2 separate regions of the Homo sapiens genome follow, and region 1 is linked to region 2. Evidence: promoter capture Hi-C in human tissues and cell types (Jung and others, 2019). All regions are on one chromosome and are shown on one strand. The core of a region is centred on a gene start or on the middle of the fragment in contact, and the rest is flanking DNA. Distances in the headings are between cores, read along the strand shown. Region 1 has its middle 14 kb from the start of MRGPRX2. Region 2 holds the start of DBX1 (developing brain homeobox 1).

Region 1 (6,967 bases), core at 4,437-6,936, 1.1 Mb after region 2:
ACCTACTAATGATGAAGTATCTCAAGCTTCCTCTATGAAAGCCAACACACTTCCTATTAGACAAAAATTTAGAAAATGTCCAGTCCACCCCCAGCTATTAAATGCATCCTGTGCCAGCAGCAGGAAACAGTCATAAATATTCTTCCAGAATCATCCTTTTGCCTGACCCATTCCTCTTGTGCTGCTTTTCCTAGCTCTGGGATTCCCTGGATTCCTTTCCCAGTTCCAGGCACCAACTTCTGGCCCTCTTCCTTATCTAGGTGACACATTCAGACACTCCTCAGCTCCCCTCTCAGCTCCACATTTCATGGGGCACCTTCAGTCCAAGTGTGAGGGGGTCTCAAATATGACTGTGCTAGCAGCAATTATTATAAACACGCTACGTGCTACCACCACCATCTGCATGCTTCTTTACAAAATACCTTTTATGTCTATGAAAGCTTGGTCATCCTCACAAATGAAGGAGACAGGTTCACAGAGTTATAGTCATTCAGCTAGAAATGGACAGAGCCAAGACTCAAAAGAAGACTCACACCCACATCTGGCATCTCCCAGTGCTCTTTCCACTAATTCAAGCTACCTCCAATAATAGAGCAATGATGAATAACCAACCAGCACTGTCTGTTCTTTATTATTACATAGGTTAAACCCTCACCTGTTTTCATCAAACTGAACTGAAACCTTCTCAAGAGTTACCCAGTTGGTTGAGAAATCTGTGGGTCATTGCCAAGTACGGTCTTAGGATCAAGGAAATGTTAATTTATGTCCCAATTGTTTGGAGATCACTGGCTACAGTTAGTGGAGACATAAGTACAGGTTCTTTCGGGCAAAAGCCAGCCTAAGCATAGCACACGATGGAGAGGTACCCGACGGGAACGGAGTCCCTATGATTCCCCCCTTCCCCTGTCTCAGGGTAACATCTGAAGTTCCACAGAAAAACATGTTTTAAACTATCAAACAAAACATTAAAAACCTATATAAAAAAAAATGAGAGCATGTGTACCCAGCTAGGTAAAGTGTGCAATTTGAGTCTGTTTTCTGTTCATTTTACTCCGGGAGAGATTGTCTAGACAAAAGCAGAAAAGAAACTTTGTGTGCGCCCTCTTGTGGAGGAGGCCTAGCACTGCAGGGCCACCCCCAGCCAGCCTTGCCCTTTAGAGCTGCTGAATGAGACAGACAAGGGGCTGCCTGCCCATGGAATTTACATTCTAGTGGAAGCAGATGGGGAAAATCCCAAGCAGATAAATGAACAAGATCTTTCCAGATCATGAAAGTAAAGAGCATAAAACAGGGTAATGTAATAGAGTGAGTAGAGGAGGGTGTGGGTCAGGCTACAAGTTGTGTGTTCAAGAAAGGCCAGCTGGGGCAGGGGAGAGGAGATGGCTGAGCTGAGCCCCAAGTGTCAAGAAGTTACCAACCACGGGAAGTTCAGGGCAACCAGCCCAGGCAGTGCCAACGCCTTGAGGTAGGAATGAGTTTGGGGTGTCAAGCACAGAGAAGCCAGTGTGACAAGTGGCAAAAGCAAACAGAAGTATTCCAGTGAGTGAGGATGGAGGGTGAGGCACCTCTGGGAGCACGCATATCATCCAAGTAGGAAAACGGGGTCTGTTTCACACTTTCAGGAGACTTAATTCTCACCCCTGCACCCACCTCCCACAGCCAGTTCTTCAGCAAATCCAGTTGGCTCTGCCTCAAACCATCCACTTTCCTCATCCCTATGGCCATCCCCAGCCCTAGTTATCACCCTCTTCTGCAATAGCTTCCTAGTGGATCTCCTTGCCCCTTGCAAGGCATTCTCCTCTCCACAGAAAAGTGATCTGCTTAATGTAAATGAGAAAATCAGATGGTGCCTCTTCCTTGCTTAGAACTCTCCAATGGCTTTGCACTTAGAATAAACCTCCCCTTAGGTCTGACTTATCCCTGCCTCTGCTCCAGCCACAGTAAACTCTAATCTCTTTCCTGCTTCAGGACACTTGCACTCGCAGTTCCCTACACCAGGAACATTTTTTCCTTGGTTTTTGACAAATCTGGTTCCTTTTCATCCTCCTGGGCTCAGCTTAAACTTCTCAGGGAATCCTTCCTTGACCACTCCATCCAAAGGAGCCCCCAAGTGACTCTCCATCACCTTGTCCTATTGATTTCCCTCATGGCAGCTATGATAATGTGTCATTTTTCCATTTATTCATTATTTTCTTACTTTTCATCTTTTTTCACATTGTATTTGAGGTCCATGAGGGCAGAGACCATAACTCTTATTCACTGCTGGATCCTCAGTGCCTGCAGAGCTCCTGGTATTTGCGTGATATTTGAGGAATGAATGAATGAGCCCTAGGAGGTAGCAGTCAAGATGGAATCTAGGAATTATCTAGCCCAACAGCCCTCAAATTCTGTTTTTAGCACAGAAGCTGTTTCCAAATGGACTCTTACACAGAACCTAAGAATGAAGCAAGACACAGCAGACATGAGCCCTGCCCTCCTGGCTCTGTCTCCATGTCGCCAAGAGCCCTGGCTGAGCCAACGACACTGGCAGCTCTTGAGAAACACCTCCCAGGTGGCTAAGTCCTCATGAATTTTCCCTCAGCCCATGTTTCTCTGACTTCCCCTGTTCTACAAATGAGAACAGAGGCAGAATGGAAAATAATATTTTAAATTGCCATCAGCAGTTTGGGGGGTGGGTAGAGTTAAATATATTAGAGAAAATTTTCATGGGGGAATGTATTTGGGAACACTTCTGGGGTGTGAGTGAGCTCTGTGGTTTTTACTTCAGAGCACCTATGTGGGCTCAGGCACATTTGCAAGAATTTCTGGAAGCCCTGTGTGCCCCAAAGAGGGAGCAGAGACCAGTTACTCTCCTGCCATCCTTTTCCTTCTCCAGAACATTGATGTGCCCTTTCAGGTGCCAGGCAGCACAACTCAGTGGGCACAAAAAGAGGGTGAGTCGGCAGAGGCCTGCTGTCCAGGTGTCCTGGGAAAGTCCTTAGCTGTGTTCACATCATTTATGACCCAGTTCGTATATTCTCAACTCACCTTTTTACCTTGGCCATTGATGTGGCAACCAACTATATGCAAATGTAGCCTGACTGCTGTCCAGAATGTCTCTTGATTTCTGTTTGTTTTTTTTGAGACAGAGTTTTGCTCTGTCACCTAGGCTGGAGTGCAATGGTGCGATCTCGGCTCACTGCAGCCTCCACCTGCCAGGTTCAAGCGATTCTCCTGCCTCAGCCTCCTGAGTAGCTGGGATTACAGGCATGTGCCACCATGCCCGGCTAATTTTTGTATTTTTAGTAGAAATGGGGTTTCACCATGTTGGCCAGGCTGGTCTCAAACTCCTGACCTCAGGTGATCCGCCTGCCTCGGCCTTCCAAAGTGCTGGGATTACAGGCATGAACCACCGTGCCCAACCATGTCTCTTCATTTCTAATGGCTACTTATCAGCTGTGTGATCTTGGGCAAGTTGCTTAACCTCTCTAGGTTTCATCATCTGAAAAAGGGGGATGATAATGATACCACTTCATATGATTGTACCAAACAGTAAATGAGTTAATAAATGTAAAGTGCTTACAACAGTGCCTGACACAAAGCAAGTGCTATCAAAAAGATCAACATTGTTATAATAACTATTATTATTGTTGTTACTCTCGCTAGGGCTGAGCACTAGAAGAGGGAGACGGGGCTTCCTGTAGCTCCGAGTCTGCTAAGCAGGAGCCTGATTTGCCATGGACAGGAGTTGACTTCAGTCCTCAGGCTTGTGGGGTGGGGGCAGGGAGGACAGGAGCTACCATTTATTGAAGGCACAGAATCAAAGAATTCTCAAAACACCTTAGGGAGAAGATACTCTTGGTATCAAAGTGGTGCCATTGGTCTGGGGCAATAACCGAGGTTCATTGCCTCATTCCAAGGAAATCGAGGACATGGACACAAACGAGGAGTGAGTTTAAGAGCAGAGGTTTAATAGGTGAAAGAAAGAGAAAAGAGAAAAACTCTCTCCTGCAGAGAGAGGGGCTCCGGACTGGATCTTCCAGTTCCACGGTGAAATGCATGGAGGCGTTTTGTAGATGAGCTTGAGGAGGCAGTGTCTGATTGACATAGGGCATGAGAGATTGGTCAAACCAGGTGTGCTGTTTGCATAGCATGCAAAGAAGCTGGTCATCCCACCCTAATCTTTTATTATGCAGATGGGGTCTCTACCTGGCCGGTGCCATGTTGCCTGCTTTTTACTGCACATGTGGTGACAAAGGAAAGGGAAGAGGGAACCTCCGTGTTGAATATACCTGGCTTCCAGATATCGCTTTTCTATTGCCACAGCTGCCAGTATTTACCTATGTGAGCTTTTAGCTTGCTTATCTATGCTTGCAGCTTGATTTTTCAGGTTGCTTTTTCTTAGAAAAGAAACAAGTTAGGGGCTGCTTTTTATTAAAAGGAAACCTTACTGAGGACTCTCTTACCCTCACTATCTGCCTAAATAATTTCTTTCTAGTTCCTGTATCACTATCACCTTTTTAGAGATGAGGAAACCAAGGCTTCAGGGGGTTACAGGAGTCATCTGAGGTCATGTAGCCTGGAGTGTCTGAACCAGGGTTGCCCCTAGGCCCAGTGAGTGTGGCCCTGGTCCCTGTCGCCACCCTGCAAAAGGAAGGAAAGGGTAGTGCATATCCCTGTGGTTCCCAGAATGTCCTAGGGGAAGAAGGAAACTGCAAAGATGTACCTCTCAGCCCTTTGTGCCTGCTGGAAAATGCTGCAGGCAATATCCTATCAGGGTCCTGAGGGGAAGGTGGTGCTCTGGGCACTGCTTCCCTGACCTATATCCAGGAGGCTGGGCTCTGGGTGAGGTAGGTGGGGATGGGAATCTGTTGGGAAGAGCACTGGGCCAGGAGTCAGGAGCTGAATTTCAGACCTCACCCAGTGTGCCAGTTCCAGCACCTAAAACAAGGCCTATCAAGTAGCAAGGAGTGCACAATCAATATTCATTGAAGAAATGGATGAGTGAATCCATGAATGAATAACATAGGCCCTGCTCTCAGGGAGCTTTCAGCCTAGAGGAGCAGAGGAGACAGGTGCAGCAGCTACAGAGTTCAGATGAGGGGAGTGCCCTAGGACCTGGGTTATACCCCAAAACGGGAGCCTTCTGGGGCCTAACAGGTAAAGGGGACTACAGAAGGCAAAGAGGAGAGAGGAGTGCAGAGCACAGAGGCCTGCGGAGCATGGGCTTGGAGGCTGAGTAGGTTAGCACTTGAGAGGGATGTGAGAAACGGCTCACACTGTTCGGATCCTTATATTCTGGAACACATCCTGCCCCGACAAGTCCTTCCCTTCACTCTCTCAAAGCATAACTCCAAACTGTGCAGTTATCTGTGGATTGGGGTAAGCTTGGCTCCCCCACACTGATTTTCTAAATTTGGGCTGGACACAGGAGCTGGTTTGACACAGAGGCCCCACAGGTCTCCTCCATCCAACAAGCAAAGCCTGGGACCAGCCCAACCTTCAGGGAGTCGCCCTCAGCCTCCTGAGCTATAGGCCTTCACTGCACCCAAGTCTTCACTGACGCAGACCTCCACACTATGCCCTCCTCCCTGGCTGCCCAACCCTCCACCGTGGGGTCAGACACACCCTGCCCACCCCTGGCAGCTGGTCCCTACAGCCTCTCCCTGGCCCGCCCTGGCCAAACACTGGCAGAGGGAAGCCTGGGAAAACCAGACAGGCAGGACTTGCCAGATGGCAGCCAGGCCTGAAGGAACCTGGGGAGAAGAGGGTGACGTGAAGGTCACTGGGGCTCCCTGAAAGTCAGAAAGACATGGAGATCAGTTGTTGTTACTGAGACGTAATGGGCAGTAAGACTTACTCTTTTGTTTCCCAACAAATGACAGAATTATACCAGAAGTAATAACCCTTTCCATCTCTATAGGGCTATCGAGTCTCCAGCCCATGTTCACATGAGGTATCCGCTCTAACAGAGGAGCAGGAACAGAAGGGAACCTGGGGCGTACCTCCCTCCATCGCATAGCAGCAGGTGCAGGCACCGTGTCTTTGCCCAGTGCTTCCATCTGCTGTCCTCAGGCTATTGCCCTGCCCCAAAGCCTAACGTGGCAGACACGTGCTGAGCAGTTTCAGCTGGCCTTGGGGATTGGGATTTTAGGAGCAAGCTTCAGAAACCCTGTGGAAGACTGGGAAAGTCGGTGAAATAATAAAGATGGTCCTGACGATGACAGAGGGCACATTCTGATGTCACACGGCTTTAAGCATGTGCTAAGCACTCACATGTGCACCTTGAATACCTCACAACAGCCATCTTACTGATGGGGAAGCCAAGGACTGACTAGTAAGGTTAAGCAACATGACAGTAAGATTAAATTAGTAGTCCTAACCTGGATTCACAGACTTAGTAGATCGGGATTTGAGACCAGCATTTCAGTGGTTGATTAATAGACACTCGCAGGAGCTGCTGTACATGCTGCCATCCATGAATGCTCAGGTTGCAAAAATTACATGGGTCCCCTTCATTGCTCTACTTTAAATTGGGATGGATAATCTTGGCTACTCGGGAGGCTGGGGTGGGAGGACGGCTTGAGCCCGGGAGTTTGGAGATGCGAGCTATGATCCTGCCACTCCACTTCAGCCTGGGTGCAGGGGGAAACTTTGTCAAAAAAAAAAAAAAAAAAAAAAATAGAAAGGAAAAGAAAAGAAAATTGGCGTGGGTAAGTAGACAGTGAGTAGAGACCGGTTCCCAAACTTCACAGGGCATTCGTCTCACTTGGATTCATCTTCCTGTTCCCTCCCTCTGTCCTCACCCTCCCTCCCTATTCCCTCTTGCGCGCAGGCACACACACCACGCACAAACACACATCGGCTTGAGATCCCAAACTTTTTCCAGCAATGTCATTGACATGGGCCCCCTGCTGGCCAGTCAAGGGTTACCGCATACTAACAAAGCAATGATCCTTGACTACCACCTAGTGACGTAATGTGGTAA
Region 2 (7,081 bases), core at 3,514-6,013:
AGGAGATCAGATCTGAAAGGGCCCTTAGAGAGCTTTCTGAGGCAACCCCCCTCGTTTTACCCATAGGGACACTGAGGCCCAGGAGACAAGAACTTTTCCTAAATACATATAGTAAAGTGAAATGGATTCAAATGTGAGTTAAAAGAATATTTAGATGCTGGAGGATCACTTGAGGCCAGGAGTTGGAAACTAGCCTGGACAACAAAATGAGACTCTGTCTTTATTATTATTTTCTTTTTTTTAAAAAAAAAGAATATTTAATCCTGCAGTCTGTGAAGAGCTGGTTAAGCAAGGAGAAACAATGGCTATTTTCAAGCAGAGTGGGACGGAATCTTCAGCTTTAAAAAGTAGCAGTATGAAATTAATTTCCCAGACAAGTGGGCAGAGATAATGATGGAGAGAGAAAGCACTCAAGGCTGGGCTTACCAAAATTTAATTTTGATTATTTTGAACGGTCTCATATCTCCTTGGCCCAACATGGTTTTAATATTGCTAGGGCAGAGGGTTGTCCAAGAAGGGAGTTGAAGTAAACTTTCTCCAAGTCCGCACTGCAAGCCCTGCACCGCTCTACAGAGATCCCCTTTATTCGGGTTAAAAAATAATAATAAAAAAAAAGAAAAAGAAAACACCAAAAAAACCCACACACACAAAAAAACAACACACAGTTAACCACCTGTCAGGGCTGAGGATACAATGAGACTCCTCGAAAAAGAGCTTTTCATGCATGCGTAATATATTTGTTCAGCTATTCACTTAATGAAGCTGATAAATGTGATGCAAGACAATAGTCAAGTTAATCTATTTAGTAAAATGTTTTGAGACTTTCAGGCTACGTTAAGGAGGGGAGCGTCCGGTGACATTTTCATTTAAATGCGCTCATCTCCTCTCTTAGGCAGCACAAGGGGGTTCGGGCAATCTATGTGAATATAATTTCTTATAAATGTGTCTTTAATGGGTTTAATTCACCCTTGCCAGCTGTTTTGGGGGCTATTTTGTAAGAGCAAAACAAACGTTTCGGGCTTGGAAAGCTAGTTAAAATTTGTTTCGGTCAGCGAGGCCAAGCTATATTTCCTGCAAACCATCTGCTTGATTGGCACAATAGAAGGATTTTCAAGGAAAAAGAGGGGAGTGAGTGTGAAAGGGATGGGGGGTGAGGGGGGAGACACTAGAAAGAGCTGGGGCAGCGGTAGCTCCTAGTGGCCTATTCTGAAGGTGAACCCCTTAGAGCTGTCTTAAAAGAGAGGCTTGCGAAGAGGGGCTGGGGCGGTAGGAAAGCTCTTTCAGTCCGAGCCTCGCAGCCCTCCTCCTTCGCCTCGCCCGTTAGCTCCCTGCCCCCCCTCCCCACACCCCCCACCCCAAAGCCAGGCGTCGGGCGCTTTTCCCTGTCGCCGCCCGGCATCCGGCCAATCTTTCCAAAATGCGCTCTCACTCTGTTGGCTGCTCCGGCAGGGAGCATGGAGGACTGGGGGTCCGAAGCCTGCAAAGGGTGACCTTAGCGTTGCAGCCTTCCCGAAACGGAGACTTGCCATCTTTTCAGAGGGCGGGGAAGCTCACACCACTCTCTGCTTTATAGTGTCCGTTTCGCCTCGCTTGCTGGCCCTTCGCTTACCCGAGACATTCCAGGCACGGCTCGCACTGGAGAGGGCCGCGCTGCTGCTGCGACCGCACGGCGCCCGGGGCAGGAACATGCTCGCTCTCCCCTGCGCGGGGGGAACGAAACCCCCAGAGTGCGTTCCGACACGCTCTTTCTACTATCCAAGGCAGGTTTCGGCAGCTTTGGCCACCTAGGCCCGGGGAGCCCCAGCCGGATCTGCTGCGGCCTCCCCCGCAGCGTAGGCAAGGACCTTAAACCCCAAACCAGGGACTCCGATTCTCTCTTTTCCCCTCCCGTCTTCTTTTCTCTTGAAAGAGAAATAGACAGAAAGCTCAGCCTTGAGACAAAGAACGCGAGTGATTTCTCCGAAATAAACTTGAAGATAACGACATAACAGTGAATGGCAGGACGCACAAAACCCCATGGGCTCAGGTCAAATGGCATTAGTCACAGGTCTTAGCCGCAGCCGCCGCGCCGCGCAGCTCCTTGGGCTATCGCGGAGTTTGAAAAGACGCGTTCAAGGAGATCACTTAAAGTAAGATCCTTTCGTCCGATTTCTTGCTTCCTTAGGATTTATTTTTCCTTTCACGGGCGGCCAGCCCTCGCCCCCTCGCCCCCGCCCTCACTTTTCCTCTTTGGCGCTTTAGGAATTCTTTAGGAGGCTGTGGAGACCGACCCCAGGAAGCAGGGTCCACGTGGATCGCAGCAAGGGGTTGATCCACCCTCCAAAAAATGGCAGGGTAGACTTTTAAAAGCCGAGAAGTTAGTAGCAGTTAGTCTATAGTGAGGCAGAATGGCTGGGGCTTGGGGTGGGGGCTAGGGGTGGCATGAAGCCTGTCGACGGACAGGAAACGGTGAAAACTACACCCCGGCAAATGCCCCAACAGGGAAGGAGGAGCTGGGAAGGGCTCACGCTGGCTTCAAGTTCTTACCGTTCCCCCCTCCAAAAAAAAACAAAATCCAAGTTGATTTTGGCAAATATAGACTCTATTCTGATCATCCGGAAGACTTGGACAAGCGCTTCACCGGTAGGGAATCAAACATCCTGAAGCCCCCGGCGCGTCCTTCTGGGAACTGGCAATTGCCCAAGTCCTTAAGACTCGGGGAGAAAAAGGGGTGGGGGGCAGAGGGAAAGGGAGTGGGAGAAGGAGGGAGGTGGGCCTGAGGAAAAAAGTAAGGGAGAGGAAGGGAGAGAGCCAGTCTTATTGCAATGGGAAACTGTCTCATGGCAAGGTTAAAGTGCAGGTGTTCAGATAGCTTATGCTTTTCTCACCTATTTTATTGCAAACTTCAAAAAGGAACTTTTGACGTTCTTCGACAGATCTCCTTCTTCCGTTTCCAGGGGACTCCAATTAACTCCAGCAAGGCGCTTCCCATATTTAAATAGCCCCTTATTTAAAAGTTGTTTCTTTCCTGATTGGTTTTCTCCCGCTGCCCATGAGCATGAGCGGTCTTGGGCTCAGAAACTCCGCACTTACGTCATCTTCTAGCATTAATTCGCCTCTGGAGCTGGGCCCTAAATAACTTTTTAATTTGAATCAAGGGAGAGTTTTAGCCGGCTCCGTTTCTGGTTTAATGTGATATAAATCGCAGATGCACTTTTATTGAATGGTTAAAGCAGCGACATGGAGATCATCAACACAAAACACCCCGAACAAAACCATCGAGAGAAATAAAGCTGGTTAATAAGATTTTTGAGAAAGCTTTGTGTTAAAAAGCAAAAAGGAAAACCAGCTGAAGGTGACAGTTAGTTCATGGTTAATAGGATCAGGGCGGCCTGGCGGGGCTGCACACTTCTCTTTGGGGAGGTTCAGCCACACTAAAGAGATGAATGGGACATTTAACACATCTGTTATCTCGCCGAACAGAGAAATGGGGGGAATCGAGTCTTAGTACCACCTCAGCCCCAACCAGAGGAAAGCGAAGGGACTGTCTCCAGGAAGATTCTCCTTTGAAGCCCCACATTCAGGGGAGGCTTTCCCGGAGTGGACCAACATTCTTGGGAACCGCATCCCTTCCCTCTGGTTTTCACGCGTTTGTGCGTTGTAGTTAATTAAGAAGCTGCCAAACCTTGGGCCAAGTTAAGGGCCCCGCAAGTGGTAGGGTTCTCTCCAGACGACGTCTGGACCTTCGCTGCTATGGCTTAAAATGTCAGGGCTGTGAGTTTCAACTTAAACTGCCGAGAGCTCCCTGTGTTTGGAGAACGGCCAGCATAGCACTCACAGCCTTTGGATACCCTTGCCCGAGGCAGTTTCCGGTCAGCCTAAGCTCTTTGCAAGCGGAATCCTGCCGCTCGGCAGCCCAGCGCCGCTCTCCTCCGCTCCTCCCGCAAGGTGAGGTGCGGACAGCCCCTTGCAGAAACTCCTAGAGAAAATCGTTTTCCAAGTTGCTGGGAATTTGAAGGAGACTCGTTTTACTTTTCAGGTATCCACCAACGCTCAAACTCAACCAGTCTCCCGAAATGAAATAACTCCAGACCTCTCCCCACTCTTACGGACACACATCCAGTGGCCCCAAAGCATCCGTTTCCAAGTTTCCCTGAGTCGTCAGAATGGGACTTCTAACACTGATTTCACTCACCCCTACATTTGCTTTATGCTTCAGCTGGAGTAACGGATAGGGCTAGAGACCGGAAAGGGAGTATATTTTCATGTCCACTGACTTGAAACTTTTCATTGCCCTACCCCCACAAGAGGGAGGGCAACTTTGCTGATAGCCTGAAGATGTATTTCTATGAATATTTATTGATTTATTTTCCAGGCTTAGCAGGGGAGCTGCAAATAAATTTAGTGGGTTCTTTAAATAATTCCTTTTCTATGAGGCAAGATGTCATCTGAAACTTCTAAATAGGCATTTAATTAGCCCGGGTGTTGCTTCGGAACAAAAACCTTTGGCGAGAGCTTTGGGGGCGCACTGTATTGCAAAGAGGCGGTCGATATGCAAAATTGATGCGCGCGGGCCTTTGTTGCCGGCCCATTGTGCGGGCCATGCTTATGAAGACTAATCCAATCATAAATTGCACCCCTGCGCCAATCAGAGAGTCCAGAGCCTCCGGCGAATGAAGCTCGAGTGGAGAACTTTGTTGAACTTCATTGTCAGAGCTGTCACTTTTCAAAGTGCTTTAGCGGGCGGGCCACTATAAAACCATCACCTCGACGAGAGGACCACGGAGGACTCGCAGACGCCCAAGTGGGATTGTTACTTGGAGACGTTTGCTAAGCCCAAGAGAGAGGACACTGTGGGGGCGGGAGGGGCGGGAAGCGAGGCGTTTACCCTCCGGCCACTGAAAGAAGGGTTATTTCGCCCGCCCGCGCCTACCATGATGTTCCCCGGCCTCCTCGCGCCCCCCGCCGGGTACCCTAGCCTCCTGCGGCCCACGCCCACCTTGACGCTGCCCCAGTCCTTGCAGTCGGCATTTTCCGGCCACTCCAGCTTCCTGGTGGAGGATCTGATCCGCATCAGCCGACCCCCCGCCTACCTGCCCCGCAGCGTGCCCACCGCCAGCATGTCGCCGCCCAGGCAGGGGGCCCCCACGGCCCTCACCGACACGGGGGCCTCGGACCTGGGCTCCCCGGGTCCCGGCAGCCGACGGGGCGGCTCTCCGCCGACTGCCTTCTCCCCTGCCAGCGAGACGACGTTTCTGAAGTTTGGAGTGAACGCCATCCTCTCCTCGGGGCCCAGAACAGGTAAGCGAGGTCAGAACCCTAAGGGCCCATTCAGGTACTAGGCATGCGCGGAGTCATCCTGGCCTCAGTTTCCTCTAGCGAGCGGGCCCCCACACACACATCGGTGCACACACAATACGCACGAACTCTGAGACCCTACGTCAGGCAATGTGAGAATAGTCCAGTCAATTCCGGGGAAGAAAAGCCTCCAGGCTCGCCCCATCCTCGGAGTGAACTTGAGCACACGCAGTCGGAGACTGTGCGCAGTCATCTGGTGCAGTAACGCTGAGCGCACGCTCCTGGACGTCTGCGTTTCTGCCTTCGAGCTTCTAGGAGACAGTTTTTTTTTTTAAACTCAATATGATATATTTATTGGATTAGCAAATATTATAAATCTGCAATTTCTTTCCTCCCCACTCAGTCCTATCTCGTTAGTGCCTAGGATGGAGATTGGGGTAGAGTGGGACGGCGCAGAGAATTACGTTGGGGAGAAAGAAAAGAGTTTTACAGATAAGACAATGTTGGGAAGATTTATTTTACCCTGTCAACGTATAAGAAAGATGTCTTTGAAACCAGATGAAGGGCTAATTATATCGTGTGTTCAGTGTGCTATACAATAGGCAAGTACGTAATCAGATTCTTTCTGTCTCCCTCTCTCCTTCTGTCCCCCCTCCATCGCCCACCAGAAACATCCCCAGCCTTGCTCCAGAGCGTCCCTCCCAAGACCTTCGCCTTTCCCTACTTCGAAGGGTCTTTTCAGCCTTTCATCAGATCTTCTTATTTCCCAGGTAGGTCTCGTCCCCCTTCTTTGCGCGAGGCAGGGCGGCGCCCCAGCCCCGGCCCATCGCTCCCTGCTCCGAAGCCGTATTTCTCCGTCCACCCCTCGGGGTTATGCTCTGGTTCAGAGGTTGCGAGGCGTATAACATTCATGAATCCGTCGCGCCAATTTGATGCCCTATTGAGCACAAGCAGTGACTGCTTGACACTTTGCACCAATTCCCTGCTCTACAAATTAGCAGGAATTGTCATGGTCCCAATTTGAGGCGGTTCCCTTCCCGGCGAGGAGCTGTTGGCATCCCTTCACGCCGCCGTTTTCCCACAGAGTCAGTGCACTTGGCCACGATTCCCCACAAAGGTTTCAGCACCATGACCAATTGGTCAGCTCCTCCGGGCAGCCACACACAGACCGGCCCTAGTCCCTCCACGCCGCCGAGAGACACCTACCAGCCGGGGCTAATTTCTCTTTAAGACTCATTCAGGGCTTCGGGCTTTTCACAAGACCACATGGGGTGCCCTCTTGTGTGGGATGCCTAGGGTCGCCCAGGGGGAGGGGGATTAGATCCTCCCCCAATCCCAACCTATTTCCAGCCTGATTTCCAAACCCCTTCTCATACTCCTTTCCCACCCTGTATTATAAAATACCGTTGATCTTGCAAAATAAGAAGCAGTTAGAAGAAAGCCCATAATTGTGTCCCAGCCTAAAACAGCAACACCTTAGGCAGCTTCCACCAGGTTTTCTTCCTGTAACCTCACTGATGATTCAAACTATGGCTCAAAAACTCTGCCACTGGTCAAAACTAAAAAGGAGGCAGGAGAGTCCCTATACAGAGAAGAAAAACTGGGTATGGCCTGCGGGGGATGGGTAAAATCACGACAGCACTCCCAAATATCAGCAAAAGAAACAAGCAATTGATTTTTTAAAGGGGAGAGATAATTCGCCCTCCCCCCACCCCCCAGCACCACCACCACCACCACCACCACCACCACCACCACCATTCACACTGCTGCTAATAATGGAATTTGCTCCCTTTCTCCCTCATCT

The links. The method cuts DNA at HindIII sites, captures the fragments that hold promoters and counts their contacts. A contact is called where the count stands out against the background at its distance.
Region 1: a fragment that was not itself captured here is called in contact with the fragment with the promoter of DBX1 in region 2 in 1 of the 25 tissues and cell types used here (lymphoblastoid cells).

Annotation. Positions count from the first base shown.
Region 1 is chr11:19,071,315-19,078,281 of GRCh38, reverse strand. No RefSeq gene overlaps it. Among named protein-coding and RNA genes, the nearest start is that of MRGPRX2, 14 kb to the right of the region's middle. RefSeq lists a silencer at 1-240. The HindIII fragment of the contact is 5,566 bases long and covers 2,904-6,967 here.
Region 2 is chr11:20,158,157-20,165,237 of GRCh38, reverse strand. It overlaps DBX1 (developing brain homeobox 1), which reads left to right and starts at 4,763. Exons shown (of 4, transcript NM_001029865.4): 1 at 4,763-5,280; 2 at 5,946-6,047. The coding sequence starts at 4,914. RefSeq lists enhancers at 1,756-2,257, 3,382-3,881, 3,882-4,383. The HindIII fragment of the contact is 9,910 bases long and covers 1-7,081 here.